Regions from separate parts of the Homo sapiens genome. Here region 2 is linked to region 1. Evidence: promoter capture Hi-C in human tissues and cell types (Jung and others, 2019). All regions are on one chromosome and are shown on one strand. Each heading gives the region's core, a stretch centred on a gene start or on the middle of the fragment in contact. The rest is flanking DNA. Distances are from core to core; before and after follow the strand shown. Region 1 holds the start of CNOT10 (CCR4-NOT transcription complex subunit 10). Region 2 overlaps CMTM8 (CKLF like MARVEL transmembrane domain containing 8).

What was found. Contacts are between HindIII fragments. The study calls those that stand out against the background at their distance.
Region 2: a contact is called between a fragment that was not itself captured here and the fragment with the promoter of CNOT10 in region 1, in 1 of the 25 tissues and cell types used here (liver).

The regions. Positions count from the first base shown.
Region 1 is chr3:32,681,093-32,688,651 of GRCh38, forward strand. It overlaps CNOT10 (CCR4-NOT transcription complex subunit 10), which reads left to right and starts at 4,096. Exons shown (of 19, transcript NM_015442.3): 1 at 4,096-4,390. The coding sequence starts at 4,369. RefSeq lists a silencer at 3,897-4,206. The HindIII fragment of the contact is 8,061 bases long and covers 1-6,921 here.
Region 2 is chr3:32,299,956-32,307,514 of GRCh38, forward strand. The region is part of intron 1 of CMTM8 (CKLF like MARVEL transmembrane domain containing 8); the gene reads left to right. Among named protein-coding and RNA genes, the nearest start is that of CMTM8, 65 kb to the left of the region's middle. The HindIII fragment of the contact is 3,122 bases long and covers 3,281-6,402 here.

The DNA of each region.
Region 1 (7,559 bases), core at 2,846-5,345:
AGCTTCCCAAAGTGCTGAGATTACAGGTGTGAATCACCACACCCAACCTTACAATACATTATTATTAACTATAGTCACCATGCTATACATTGGGTTCGACTCCACCTCCTGATGGATGGGAGGAGCAGCATGTGCGTATTGGGATGGTAAGAGTTGTCAACCAAGAAGCTAGATGTAAAAGGTCACATATTGTATGATTCTCTGGAGGCAGTCTTCCACAAGCAGTAAGAATCACATATAGGCCAGGCACTGTGGCTAACACCTATAATCCCAACATTTTGGGAGGCCGAGGTGGGTGTATCCCTTGAGTCCAGGAGTTTGAGAACAGCCTGGGAAAAATGGCAAAACCCGGTCTCTACCAAAAATACAAAAAATTAGGCCAGGCGAGGTGGCTCACGCCTGTAATCCCAGCGCTTTGAGAGGCTGAGGCGGGTGGTTCACCTGATGTCAGGAGTTCGAGACCAGCCTGGCCAATGTGGTGAACTAAAAAAAGAAAAATTAGCCAAGCACGGTGGCTTGCGCCTGTAATCCCAGCTACTTGGGAGGCTGAGGCAGGAAGATTGCTTGAACCCGGGAGGTGGAGGTTGCAGTGAGCCAAGATCGCATCACTGCACTCTAGCCTGGTTGACAAGAGAGAAATTCCATCTCAAAATAAATAAATAAATAAATAAATAATAATAAAAATAAAAATAACAAAAATATAAAAAATTAGTCAGGTGTGGTGGCGTGCACCTGTAGTCCCAGCTACTTGGGAGGCTAAGGTGGGAGAATCACCTGAAACTGGGAGTTAGAGGCTGGAGTGAGCCATGATTATACCACTGCACTGCAGCCTGGGTAACAGAGTGAAACCTGTCTCAAAACACAGACACAAACAAACAAACCACATACAGTCTAAAGTACTGTGAATGGATAGTGGTATCATTATTAGCTGGAGGTAAAGTGACTCACCGTAGTTTATGACGGAGCAAAATCCTACTGAGCTTTTCCACCTCCCCACTCCTGAATTAGTTATCCATCATTGATGTCAGCCTGATTGTGAAAAAAGGGAGAGCTGCTGATACGGAAAGTAGAGGGAAGAGAGCCCAAATATCTTCAATATAATAGCAAATCCTAGAATCTAGAATGTAGTGGTTAAGATAATAGCCATTTACCAGTCTTGTGGCTTGGGAAAGTGGATTAACATCTGTGCCTCAGTTTCCCTATCTATGAAATGGGGGACAAGAACCAACATAGATGTGACCACATGTGAGAAAGTGAAAAGGGGACTAAGAAAATTAAAAAAAAAAAAACAGTTCTGTTAGTAGAATGTTCCCAACTGGACATAAACAGCACTCACAGAATATGAACAATGTTCATAGACAGTTTCACCATGATCGTGTTTTGGACAAGACAGAAACAAGGCCCTCAACAACCACACAAATGGGAAAACACCCCCTTCTTCTAATGTAAATGATCCCGCTTTTTTTTTAACCAATGACAGCTCTAGCTTGCTTTGTTCCTCCTTCTGTTTAGATAAAACCAAGACTGAATTGCTTGTTTCCTGACAGCATCCAATTCAAATTTGGCCTCCTACTTTCCCAATCCCTCTAGAATAAGCCCAAATTCTATAAGAGATTCCTCCTAATTCCTTTTCATTAAGAGGCTCCCTACTACACTTCAGGTGTGCCTTTTTATTATTTTTTATTCTTTATTTTATTTATTTATTTATTTATTTTTGAGATAGACTTTTGCTCTTGTTGGCCAGGCTGCAGTGCAATGGCACGACCTCGGCTCACTGCAACCTCTGCCTCCCGGGTTCAAACAATTCTCCTGCCTCAGCCTGCCAAGTAGCTGGGATTACAGGCACCCGCCACAACGCCCGGCTAATTTTTGTATTTTTTTTTAGTAGAGACGGGGTTTCACCATGTTGGCCAGGCTGATCTCAAACTCCTGATCTCAGGTAATCTGCCTGCCTCGGCCTCCCAAAGTGCTGGGATTACAGGCATTAGCCACCGTGCCCGGCCAGGTATGCCTTTGCCCAGCCAGGTATGCCTTTTTATGGTGGGCACATATTCATCAAAAGTCATACTAGAGTAATCATATTGGCCCTATTCAAAATAGATAAAATATCCAAATGCCCAACAATAAAATGAATACATAAATTAAGGAATATTCACATAATGTAACATTATAATATATAACAATGAGAAACAAATACAACTTCATTCAACAATGTCAATGAATCTCATACTATCGAGCAAAAGAAGCTAGACCCTAAAAAATATATTGTATAATGTATATACATTAAGTTTAAAAGCAGGTGAAGCTAATCCATAGTGTTAAATGTCAGCATAATGATTATCTTTGTGGAGAGATGGGAAGAGGCATGAGGGGAACTCCCAGATATGGGTAAAGCTCTGCCCTTTCTCTGGGTGCTAGTTATATGTATGTGTTGAGTTGATGAAAAGTCAATACACTGTACTTATGATTCATGCACTTTTCTTTGTGTATGTTAGCCTGAATTAAAAAGTTTAAGAAAAAACAAATACTTTTTTTTTTTTTTGAGACAGAGTCTCACTCTGTTGCCCAGGCTGGAGTGCAGTGGGGCAATCTTGGCTCACTGCAATCTCCGCCTCCCGGATTCAAGGGATTCTCCTGCCTGAGCCTCCCAAGTAGCTGGGATTACAGGTGCACACCACCACGCCCAGCTAATTTTTGTATTTTTAGTAGAGACGGGGTTTCACCATGTTGGCCAGGCTGGTCACAAACTCCTGACCTCAAGTGATCCACTTGCCTTGGCCTCCCAAAGTGCTGGGATTGCAGGTGTGAGCCACCACGCCCGGCCAAAAACAAATACTTTTTTAAAAGAAAGTTTAAAACAAAAGTTAAAAAAAAAGAAAAAAACAGGTACAAACCTGAAAAATCTCCCAATTAACAAAGCTGGGACAATTTTAGCAACAAAATAATGTAGTATTGGAATGTAACCATTATAAGATAAACATCCATGAGTCCATACTGATATAAATAGCTAAGTGAGGGAGAAGAGGCAAACTTCCCTTGGGGAAGATAATTTATGTACATACTCCCCACTGCAGGAGGTAGAGCTTAAATACCCCGCCTTCCCACCTTGAGTGTGGGTTGCATTTATTGACTTGGTTCCAAAGTAGTGTGGAAGGGTAGGAGGAGTAATTGCACAGTAGAGAAAACTGGCAAGCACTACCTTAGAGAGGTAATCAAGGTTAACATGATCAGTGATGTCATTTTGACAGCATGTACCCTTGATTCTATGTGATGAGAACAGCCAGTCACCTTGTGGTCTTCCTCCTAAACACCCAAAACCCCAGTCTAACCATGAGAAAAATATTGGCCAAACCCAAATTGAGGCACATTCCACCAAATATCTGAGGAGTAACTCTTCAAAACTGTCAAGGTCATCAAAAACAAGAAGAATCTGAGAAACTGCCACAGCCAAAAATAGCCTAAGACGACATAATGAATAAATGCAATATGGTGTCCTGGACAGGATCCTGGAACAACAACAAAAAAAGGACATTGAAAGAAAGCTGGTAAATGTGAATAAAATGTGTAGTTTAGTGAGTAATAGTGCGCCAATCAAACTGGTTTCTTAGATGTGATCAACGTAACATAGTAAAATAATTAAGATGTTCACAATAGGAGAAACTAGGTGAGGAGACAGGAACTCTAGGTGTCATCTTTGCAACTTTTCTGCACAACTACAACTATTCTAAAATAAAAGGCGTTTCTTTTTAAACGGGAATCCTCAACAGCGCCTCTCTCATGGGGTTGCAAGAAATCAATGAGATAGTACAGACCAAGTGCAGGGCTCAGTGCTTAGCACATAAATGTCAGATGTGGTTATTGTAATATTATGTAACATTGAGGGACAAAAGCTCTGACACCTCGGTGTTTTAATTAGAGTAAGCAAAGGACAGACGCGCGTACGTCCCACCGCGTCAGCCCTGTGAACATCCAGAGGTTCCAGCCAGAGTACGTCCGGCCGGAGGCGGGGCGCGGAGGGGACGTCGGCGTGGGGCGGGGCCAGTAGCAGTTCCCACGCCGGCGCTCCAGGCGCGGCAGGCTGCCGCCCCCGGAAGTAGTGGGTACCGGGACGCCGTGAGGCGGAAGCTGTGTATGGCGGGAGGCTGTGGCGGTCCCTTGGTGGGGAAGCTGTTGCTGTTGCTAGACGACGGGAACTAGCTCTCGTCACTTCCTCAGCCCGCCGTCTGCCCACTCCTCTAGCCGGAACCTGGGGGCCCGGAGCCGGGGTAGGCACAGAGTTGTCCTCGGAGGTCCAGGACAGCGGCCAGCCCGGCGGCGGGAGTCAGGGCCACGCCACCTGCAGGGAAGAACCCGAGTCGAAGCGGGAAGATGGCTGCAGACAAGCCTGCAGGTAGGGCGCCAATGTCCCGAGCGACGAGACGGCGGGACGTGCGGGGCCGGGCGGACCCTGAACTCGGAGGCGGCGGGGCCCGGGGTGGGGACTCCAGGGCGACTTGAATTTGGGCGTGCATTTCTTTACCCCATCCTCTGTCTCGGCTGTCGCTAACATGAGTCTTCGGGCCCCGGGTCCAATAGTTGTTTTACTCAAGTGCAGTATTTGAAGTCGCCACTGGCCGCCTTTGCCCTGCTCTTCAGAATAACTCCGGCCCAAAAAGCTTAAATGTATTTTGCCGCTTCGCAGAATTTTCCGCTTCTTCGTGGGAAAAGCAGACAAGAGAAAGTCACCCTGGAGCACACATCTGCCTATAATATCGCGTGGCTGAGGCTGGGATTCACCTGGGCTGTTTTGACCACATGTGGCTTCCTCTGGTCATTGACTCCTGTGAAATTAACTTTGTAAAAACCACTTTTTTTTTTCTTGATAGAGACGGGCGGGGGTCTCGCTATGGTGCCCAGGCTGATCTCGAACTTCTGGGCCCAAGCGATCCTTCCGCCTTGGCCTCTCAAAGTAAACCACTTATTTAAAAAGGCATAAAATCCTATTGTCTCTCTACAGTCTGTGCTCCTAAAATCTTGCATTTGGTACTTAATTGCTCTAGTTCCTCGAAATTACTTAATCTCAATGGTTTTCTTTATGGATTATTGCTCCCATTCCTAGAATCTTCCACATTAAGGAATATAAAATTATTTCCTGACCTTGTCCGGAATGTTTCCCGCAAGAAATTCATATTCTTTGTGGCATCCAGGTTTTATTGGAAAGAACTTAAGTGACAGGATTTAAAAGTGATGGAACTTAAAATTTTTACAGTGAATTTAATTTAAAATTAAAGAAAAACTCAGTGTGCTGTGGATTTTAGTAGGTTCTGGTCACAATAACTGACAAATGAACTTCACTTGGAAATTAAGCCAATTCTATTTTAGGTACAGAGGAATAAAAATCATTAGAGGATCTCTTCAATAATCTAAGAAGAAAAACAACAGAACAAAGGCCTTGAGAGGGTATAAGGAATGTGCTGTGAAATTTTGGATAGGTTGTTCAGGGAAGGCCTCTGGTGAGATGATATTTGAGCAGAGATATGTAAGAAGTGAGGGAATGAGCCATAAGAAATGAGGAAAGGTGGATGAGGGAGAGACTATTAGACAGGAAAACGGCATGGCCTGTCCAAGGCTGGACCAGGGGACCAACATCTTCCTCCTTATTTTAGAATAGTGTCTGTGTTCCCCACATTTACCATTCCTACTTGCTCATACCATTGCGCTTGCCCGAAATCACCCTTTTAGACCTAAAGCCCATCCAGTTTTCAAATCCTCAGTCATAAAGCCTTCTACTTGTTCATTTATTCATTCGCAAAGATTGAGTGTTGAATAATGGATATGACACACTCCCTGCCTTTGAAGACCTGCTGTTCAGTCTGTTGGAGGAGACAGGCATATCCTAGCTGCACTCCTGTTTGGTAAGAGCTGTGTAATGTGTGTAGTTGAAGAATAAGGTCCACAGTGATTAGGGGACTGTTTTTTTCATTGGTTTAAGTTTATAGGCCATATTGAAGGAAACTTCCTGCTTTGATATAAGGTTAAATTTGAATAAAATAGATGAGTGTTTAGTGTAGCTCCTTTGAATCTCTGCTCATCTCCATCTCATCTGCTGTGTTTCTGGCCTTTATCTTTTAATATGATCTATGTCGCATTGAGTAGTCTTCTCACTGGTGTTTGTCTCTTGTCTCTTCCTATCCCATCCATTTTCCTCACTGTCGCCCCCCGCTTTTTTTATGTCCTAAGACATTCATTGAATCCTGTCATTCCCCTTCCTATAAAGTTTCTAAGACTGTACATGCTTTGGGCATCAAGTCATCATTCTTTTTATTTAATTTTTATTGTATTTTCTTTCTCCTTTTAAGTCCTCACGGTTTTTTTTTTTTGTTTTTTTTTTTTTTTTTGAGACGGAGTCTCGCTCTGTCACCCAGGCTGGAGTGCAGTGGTGCGATATCGGCTCATTGCAAGCTCCGCCTCCCGGGTTCACGCCATTCTCCTGCCTCAGCCACCCGAGTAGCTGGGACTACAGGCGCCCGCCACCACGCCCTGCTAATTTTTTTGTATTTTTTAGTAGAGACAGGGTTTCACCATGTTAGCCAGGATGGTCTCCATTTCCTGACCTTGTGATCCGCCTGCCTCGCCCTCCCAAAGTGCTGGGATTACAGGCGTGAGCCACCGCGCCCTGCCGTCCTCACTCTAATGTGGTTTGTGAGCATCTTCAAAATCTATTTCCAGCTGGATTTCTGTATCAACCCACCCAGCTCTTCACATCATAAATTACTGTTGCAAAGCATTGTGTTTTTTGAGCTTTTGAGCCGTAGTGTCCTTTCTCTTCTCCGTCTGGTGAACACTATTCATTCAGTCTATCTTACATGCTGCTTCCTCTCTGAGCTCACGAGGTCAGGATATTTGTCACGGAGGGTCTTGTGTGTGTGTTCTTCATCAGGTAAGAAAAAAGGGTCATGAAAGGACTTAAGGTGAGTGATCTGATCACACTGACTGTTGTAGGTGGTGGATTTAAATGAAGTAAGACAGGAAGCCTAGAGACCACCTAAGATGAGTTAATGTTGTGATATTAATTTATTCAGTAAATATTCACCAATGGCCTGTTTTGCCAGGTACTACTTTAGGAACTGGGCAGGAACAAAACAAAGTCTCTGTTCTGGAGCTTATTTACTATGAAGGACAGATAAGCATGTAAATAAAATGAAAAATAAGATGATTTCAAGTTGTGATAGATACTCTGAAGAAGGCCAAGTGCAGTGGCTCACACCTGTAATCCCAGCATTTTGGGAGGCTGAGGGGGGTGGATCACCTGAGGTCAGGAGTTCAAAACCAGCCTGACCAACATGGTGAAACCCCATCTACTAAAAATACAAAAATTAGCCAGGCATGCTGGCGCACACCTGTAATCCCAGCTAGCTGGGAGGCTGAGGCAGGAGAATTGCTTGAACCTGGGAGGCAGAGGTTGCAGCAACCCGAGATCGCACCACTGCACTCCAGGCTGGGTGACAGAGTGAGATTCCATCTCAAAAAAAAAAATAATACTCAGAAGAAAAAAATGAGTAAGAGAGGCTGTCTGCAGT
Region 2 (7,559 bases), core at 3,592-6,091, 380 kb before region 1:
TGTAGGTGCTGAAAAGGGATGATGCCTTTCTTCTCCATCATAAAAATCATGGCCAGCACCTCTATAACAAAAAGGTTAACAGACAAAAGCATAACACATTTCTTTGATCATACTTTTGCGTGACACAGCAGTCTTCAGATCGAAGACCCAAAGATACAGGGGAAGCTATCCATTTTTATGCTTCAGTTTGATGATGAATGGATAGCTGTGTGGAACTGTGGTTGGACCAAAAGGGTGTGATCTAATGCTAATAGGCTGAGCGGGGGAACCCAGCAAGGGCTGTCTGTTCAGATTCTTCTTGGACTCTCTGCAGCATAATTTCCTTCCAGGTATGGGGCAGGACCCTTTCTGGAATGGGGGTCTTATGAACTACAACCAAACAAGGTCAGTCAGATTATTTCTTTGTGGCCAATTCTTACACAGAAAAGTAGGGGAAATTTTTAGATTTTATGGCTGGCTTTGGGGAAAAGGGTTTTGGTTTCCATGATCTCCATTGGGGAAGAGGGATTCTAATATCTGTGCTTGCCTTTTTGGGGGAAAGGGGGAATGAGGCTGAGAGGCAAGCAGGACAAGGTCAGAGAAAAACTGCTTCTGAGCCCTTACTTTAGGGTATTGTCTTCTGAGCCCTAACACTGTTCCAATAAAACTTTATTTAGAGACACTGAAATTTGGATTTCATAGCATTTTCATATTTCATTTTATGTTATAAAATATTCTTTTAGGCTGGGCACGGTGGTTCACGCCTGTAATCCCAGCACTTTGGGAGGCTGAGGTGGGTGGATCACCTGAGGTCGGGAGTTCAAGACCAGCCTGACCAACATGGAGAAACCCCATCTCTACTAAAAATACAAAAAATTAGCTGGGCGTGGTGGCACATGCCTGTAATCCCATTTACTTGGGAGGCTGAGGCAGGAGAATTGCTTGAACCTGGGAGGCGGAGGTTGTGGTGAGCCGAGATTTTGCCATTGCATTCTAGCCTGGGCAACAAGAGTGAAACTCCATCTCAAAAAAAAAAAAAAATCTTTTAATTTTTTTCAACCATTTAAAAATATAAAAATCATCCTTCACTTGCAGGTCTTATAAAAACAAATGGCTGAGATTAATAAATTGCAAATGATTTTTGTCCAGTTAAGATGGGAAGGATTTCTTATGGCAGAAAAGGAGCATCAGGGGTACTGCTATATGCCAGGTAGGACATTAACCCGGTTTGTTTCTAAGTTTCCAGCCTTATCCCGGCATTCATCTTTCCACAGATTTTTTGCCCTACTTAGGTTTCTGTGCCATCCACCTTTGAGCCAGCTTTGTCATTCTGCTTAAGTTGACAAACTCATCAAGTTACAGAATCTTTAGCATATGCATACTCTATATGAGTCAAGAGCTGACCTTTTCAAAAAAAAATTATACTTTGACAGCTGTATATATATATATAAAGCAACATAAGACATTTTAAATAACAATATATAAATTTCTATCCTGTTGTTTTTAAAACTAGAAACAGGGCAATTAAATAATCATTCAATATATGGGCAAAAGGATTCCACCTTATCTTTCCCTCCTGCCAGTGGTGCAGAAAGTGGTCAAGGGAGAGTGGTGGATGAAGAGGGATAGGGGAGACACAGCCCTTGGGAGGGGTCCTCTGTCTACCTGGACTTGATCAAGCTGCAGTATGACTCATCCCGGCATCGGTGACATTGCACTGGGGATTCCTGAAATCTCATACAGTTTTCCATGAATGATTTTGGTTTCCATCCAGCAGTTCTTATCATTGATATGAAACAAAAAAAAAAAAAGAAAGAAAAATAGTATTTTTCAGAGGGCATTGGTGTGAAAAGGCAGGTGATGTCAGAGAACATTGGACTGAGTGTCAAGAGGTTTCCATTTCGAGTCTGGCTAACCAGCCATGTGACATTGGGTAAATCACAGTACTTTTGTTTTTGCATATGTCAAATGAAAAGCTTGAATTCATAGTCATTAATATTCTTTCTGGTGCTAAAATTTTTGCAACAAAAATAGAATAGACCCAAATTCCTTTCGGTGGAATTAAGAGTGATCACTGATTGCTGACTTTTTTTTTTTTCTTAATAAGAATAGCATAGGCCAGACATGGTGGCTCATGCCTGTAATCCCAACGCTTTGGGGGGCCAAGGCAGGAGACCAACATGGGCAATTCCTGTCTCTACAAAAAAAAAAAAATTTAATTAGCTGAAATGTGGCACGTGTCATAACTACTTGGAGGTGGGGGCTAAGGTGGGAGGACTGCTTGAGCCCAGGAATTGGAGATGCCGTGAGCTATGATTGCACCACTGCACTCTAGCCTGGGTGACAAAGACCTTGTCTCAGAAACAAAACAAAATACCCCCACAAAATAACTACCTTGAAGTTAATTCTTTATTGGAACAAGTAGCACAGCATTGGATAGAAAAGTACAAAATGCAATTTTCTGCCTCTGTATGCTGTTCAGTTTATGGTTGTTCCCGACATCTTAGGTCACTTTCCAGTTCAAAGTTAGTTTTAAGTCTGAGAGCAAAGATTTCCTTGCCTAAGGGAGGATTAGATGAAACAAGGCTCCCAAAAGGCGATTGGCCCCCTGACAAAGCTGGAACAGTGGTGAGACAGATGGAAGTAGAAGAGAAGGAATCAGAGGCCCTTTTGAATTTAGAAGTGGACTTGTGAGTGCTAGGATTTCCCTGGGTTTTTCAAGCCCAGAGAAGAAATTGGAGCAAATTTCACAAGGCATGGGTTTTTCACCTATTTGAGGAGGTGAGGGATCTGTTGAGAAAAGAAGAAAGCTAAGGTCCCTCTCCTTGGAAACCTGTGCGCACACACACGAAGTGTATGAAGTACCTGTGCGCATACACACCAAGTACCTGAAGTCTGTAACTTCAGGATCTTTTAAGACCCATGGCATGAAGAGATTGGCTGAATTTGAACAAAGGAACCCTGGGGCATTAGATGTAGAACTTTGTTGTCTTTGGAGAGAGACCTGGTCTCACACTTAAATACCCAGGTGGCCCCATTTTGTTTTATTAAACCAATTTCGTCTCTTTGACCCCCAGCTCTTACAATCACATGCCCGATTGCACAGCTTTCTCCCTTCCAGCAAATCCTTTTTGATCACTATTACATAAACTCTAAATTGAGTGTCCAAATTGCAGGCGTCTAGGATCCAAAACAAATGTAGGTTGCAAATAAGTAAGGTTTTTAAAAAAGATCTTTGTCTTCTTAAGTTGCTGATAGTTACTGCTTGCTGGGAACTGTAGGCCTTTCCTGGCAAGATTTCTCAACATTCTCTTGAGAGCAGTTGTGTTAACAAGTTATGAAGATTACTTTAATGCTTTGCTTGGAATTCATTTCGTATCTGCATAAATCTTCAAGGCCATTATCATATCAGTGAGATATTTCTAGTATTTTTGAGAACTCTGATGCATCAAAATGTCTGAGTTCAGCTCGTTCTTAATGTGGTGACAGGGTCAAATGTGTTGGTTTAGATTCAGGTGTTTCGTTTTTGTTTTTATCTTATGCCTCCAAACACTTAAAAGTAAATTGGGTCGCTTATCTTCAAATTTGAGGCAGGAAATACTGTTTGGTTCTCATACTTTCTTCCCGTATGTTTCATTTCTGAAACATTCTGGCTTGTTTACACATTGATGGTAACCGAGCTTCCCCCCTCCCCCTCCCAACTGTAATTTTGAAAAATTTCAAATCTGCAGGAAAGTAGAACAATATAGACTCCTTCGCTTAAATTTTGTAGACTCCTCACTTACATTTGCCAGCTCACATTTTTTTACATCTGGTTTCTCTCGCTGTGTGAATGTGTGTGATCTTATTTTTGTTGTGGTTGTTGTTAAACCACTGGGAAGTTGCAGGCCTGACATTTATTCCCTAGGTATTTCAGTATGTATTTACCAAAAATCATTAAATAACTATTAAATTATTTAAATTAATTGTAATACCTTCATCACACTCAAGGAATTTAGCATCAATTCACTAATATGTGATGCAGTCCATATTCAAATTTTCTACTTTGTCCCAAGAATGTCCTTTACTTCAGCCTTTTGTTTGAGGATCCAGTCAAGGATCGACAGATTTCTTTTAGTTGCCATGTTTCTTTAGTCACCTTTAATCTAGAAAAATCCTCAGCCTGTTAGACCATTTGGGTAAGAATACAGCCCAGGTGGTGCTGGCATGTATCTGGTTGTGATCGCATGATAATTGGTTGTACCAAAATCAGTGTTGCTAAGTTTGGTCACTTAGTTACAGTAGCATCTGCCAGGTCTTATAAAAGGGACCCTATTCTCATGTAAAAGTTTGGGTGTTGGCAGGGGGCTGAAAATGGGTGTCCTATTCTGAGACAAGGAGAATGAATTTTCCCCCAACAGCCTTGGCCTCTCTGATTGTAACATCCACTGATGTTCTTCTCAGCTGTACTTTGATTTGTTGTTGGAGATGGCATGGGGGAAAGGAAAAGTATAAAGGAAATGTATTCCAGCAGATCTTTGTAGAATCAATTCCATTGCTCCTTTATTTGTATAGTTACAAGAAATGAATGATGTGAGTGCTCTGTATTTTCTAGATTGTCATACTCAATCTATATGAACAAAAGAAGCTTAGTTTACTTCTGTCTCTCCATAGAGAAACCTCCAAGGCAAATATTTGTCTGGAGTTAGTAGCCTGCAATGATTACCGAAGGTCCAGATGAGGTTATTAAAATGCCTGGTGTTTGCCCTGGTGGCACACACAAGATAAATGAGGCAGAATTCTTTCAGCTTGGTTACATGTTGGTTTTTCATGTTCCAGTTAATAGTACAGAGTAGGAACATCTGCTTTAGCAGGTCCAGCTAGATAAACAGCTTCTGCAGTATAACAGAAATCAGCAGCCTATGCCATTGACTTAAGGAGACAGATTTAAACTTTGTAAATAAAAGGTTTGACTAAAGCTTATGAGGAGGAATATTTCTGCATAGATGAGAAAGCTCAAGTGAATTTTGTATTTAATCTTTCCCCATAGGGTAGTGAACTAAAACATTAGTTTTGGGCTAGTGGCTGAGAACCATCTCTTTAAGACAGAAATATTTTGGCAATCTAAATCTCCCTTGGGCGGCATTAGGTAGAGAGTGATGTAATTCCTAATCTCAAACATTTTTGTTTCAAACATATTAAATGTTTCTACAAAGCCATCTTCGAGTTGTGGCTTTATGGACTCAAGCGGCTAAGGCAGTGGTTCTCAGTCAGGGTGCAGTTTTTTTCCCTAGGGAACATTTGGTAATGACTGGAGGCTTTTTTTTTTTTTTTTCAGACGGAGTCTCGCTCTGTCACCCAGGCTGGAGTGCAGTGGCGTGATCTCTGCTCACTGCAAGCTCAGCCTCCCGGGTTCACGCCATTCTCCTGCGACTGGAGACATTTTTGATTGTCACAACTAGGAGGGTGGTATTGGCATCAGGTACAAAATGTCACTGATGGCAAGGTTGGAAAAACTGCTTTACAGGATAGAAAGTTATTTTACTGACAAATATGTGCAGTGTATGAGATACTGGGTGTTCCAAGAAAATGAAGTCCTGGACCCTGCCTTCAAAGCTGGTTATATCACAGCTGTTGACAATCACAAAACTATGGTAAATACACTTTCTTATTCATCTACGAGCCTTAATGATCTGAGAGGAGATGGCACAGCAGGCTATAAGTAGGAGCCCCATTTGGGCTGGGACTTACCAGATGAGTAGGCATTAGTAAGTGTGGAGGGTTGAGAAATCCCACTCTTCAGTTCATACAGCATCATCATTGTTCCATGGAGGCCTCTTATTGTTTCCTCATTTGTGCCTCCTTTCCTCCATGCCACTGGCAACCATATTCGTGGGTTAAATATAACAGAAATCTTTAATTTTGCATGTTTTTAAAAAATAAAATGTGTATTGACTGTAGATAACTTATGTAGATGGAATTGTGTTAAGATATCTCATTCAGTTCTTTTCCAGTTAACCCTATGCTATTAAAATCAATTCATGTTGCTATGGATCCATCTATTCTGTTGCTTTGAATTGCTTTCCTGGTACTCCTTGGAGTGTGTAGCAGTTAGTATGCTTTGTGATGAACCATCCCAAACTTAGTGACTTAAAACAATGGTCACTCCTTTTTCGTGAGTCTGTGGGGTTGGTTGAGTGGTTTGGCTGATTTGTGTCTGGGTCTGCTGATCTCAGCTGGTGTCACTCATTCATCTGTGATCTGCTGGAGACTGCATGATTTAAGAGGTCCATGGCACATTGTTGTCATCCTTCATCAGTTTGGCCTAAACTTGGTCACCTGATGGCAAGGCCAGGAATCCAAGGGAGGAGAATTGTGCAAGGCCTATACTTGGAACTTGACCACAGTCATTTCTGCCATATTCTGTTGGCTAAACCAAGGCACGAGTCCAATCCACAAATCCAGTCTGGATTCAAAGTGTGGGGAAATAGACTCCACCACTTGATGGGAGGAACTGAAAAGCGACATTGCAAAGGGATGGTTATAGGGAGTTTAATTAGAGCCATTGATTAGTCAGAGTATGCATCCACCACCTTTTGCCTATTCACTCTTCCAGTGATGGAAGCCAAAGTTGATTCCAACTCTGGAAGCTGTGATAAATATCTTTGTACATGTCACCTTGTGGAGCTGTTTGATAATTTGGAAGCTATATTCTCAGGAGTAAGATTGCTGAGGCAAATGGTTACATCTACCTGGAATGTCTATAGGAACAGCAGAAGATGAGACTGGATACTTCCTTGTTGAGAAGTTGGGATTTGGTGCTAAGGTTTAGTGGGCAACCTTGAGTTTTAGGTAAGGTTAATGCATTTAGACTCATGTTTTAGAGGGATTATCTTGGCAATAGTGTGAGGGTTGGAAGAGACGGGTACTACATTAGGTCCTTGGGTGCCTCATTGGAAGCTGACTTAGGCCAGCTGAGAATCTGAATTAAGGTCATAAAAATGGAGAGAAGATGCCAGGCACAGTGTCTCACGCCTGTAATCCCAACACTTTGGGAGGCCGAGGTAGGTGGATCACGAGGACAGGAGTTTGAGACCAGCCTGGCCAACATGGTGAAATCCCGTCTCTACTAAAAATACAAAAATTAGCTGGGCATGGTTGTGGATGCCTGTAATCCCAGCACTTTGGGAGGCCGAGGTAGGTGGATCATGAGGACAGGAGTTTGAGACCAGCCTGGCCAACATGGTGAAATCCCGTCTCTACTAAAAATACAAAAATTAGCTGGGCATGGTTGTGGATGCCTGTAATCCCAGCTACTCGGGAGGCTGAGGCAAGAGAATCACTTGAAACCGGAAGGTAGAGGTTTTCAGTGAGCTGAGATCGCACCACTGCACTCCAGCCTGACCGACAAGAGCGAAACTCCATCTTAAAAAAAAAGAGAAGGTAGAATCAACCTGACCTGGTGGCTGACTGGATGAGGGAAAAGCAGGAGTCTAGGATGACTTCCTGGTTTCTGTCTTGGGTAGGTGGGGAGATGGTGTTGGCATGAGTTGCTGGGAATGAGGGAGAAAGAACAGATCCTCGGGGAGATGATAAGTAAG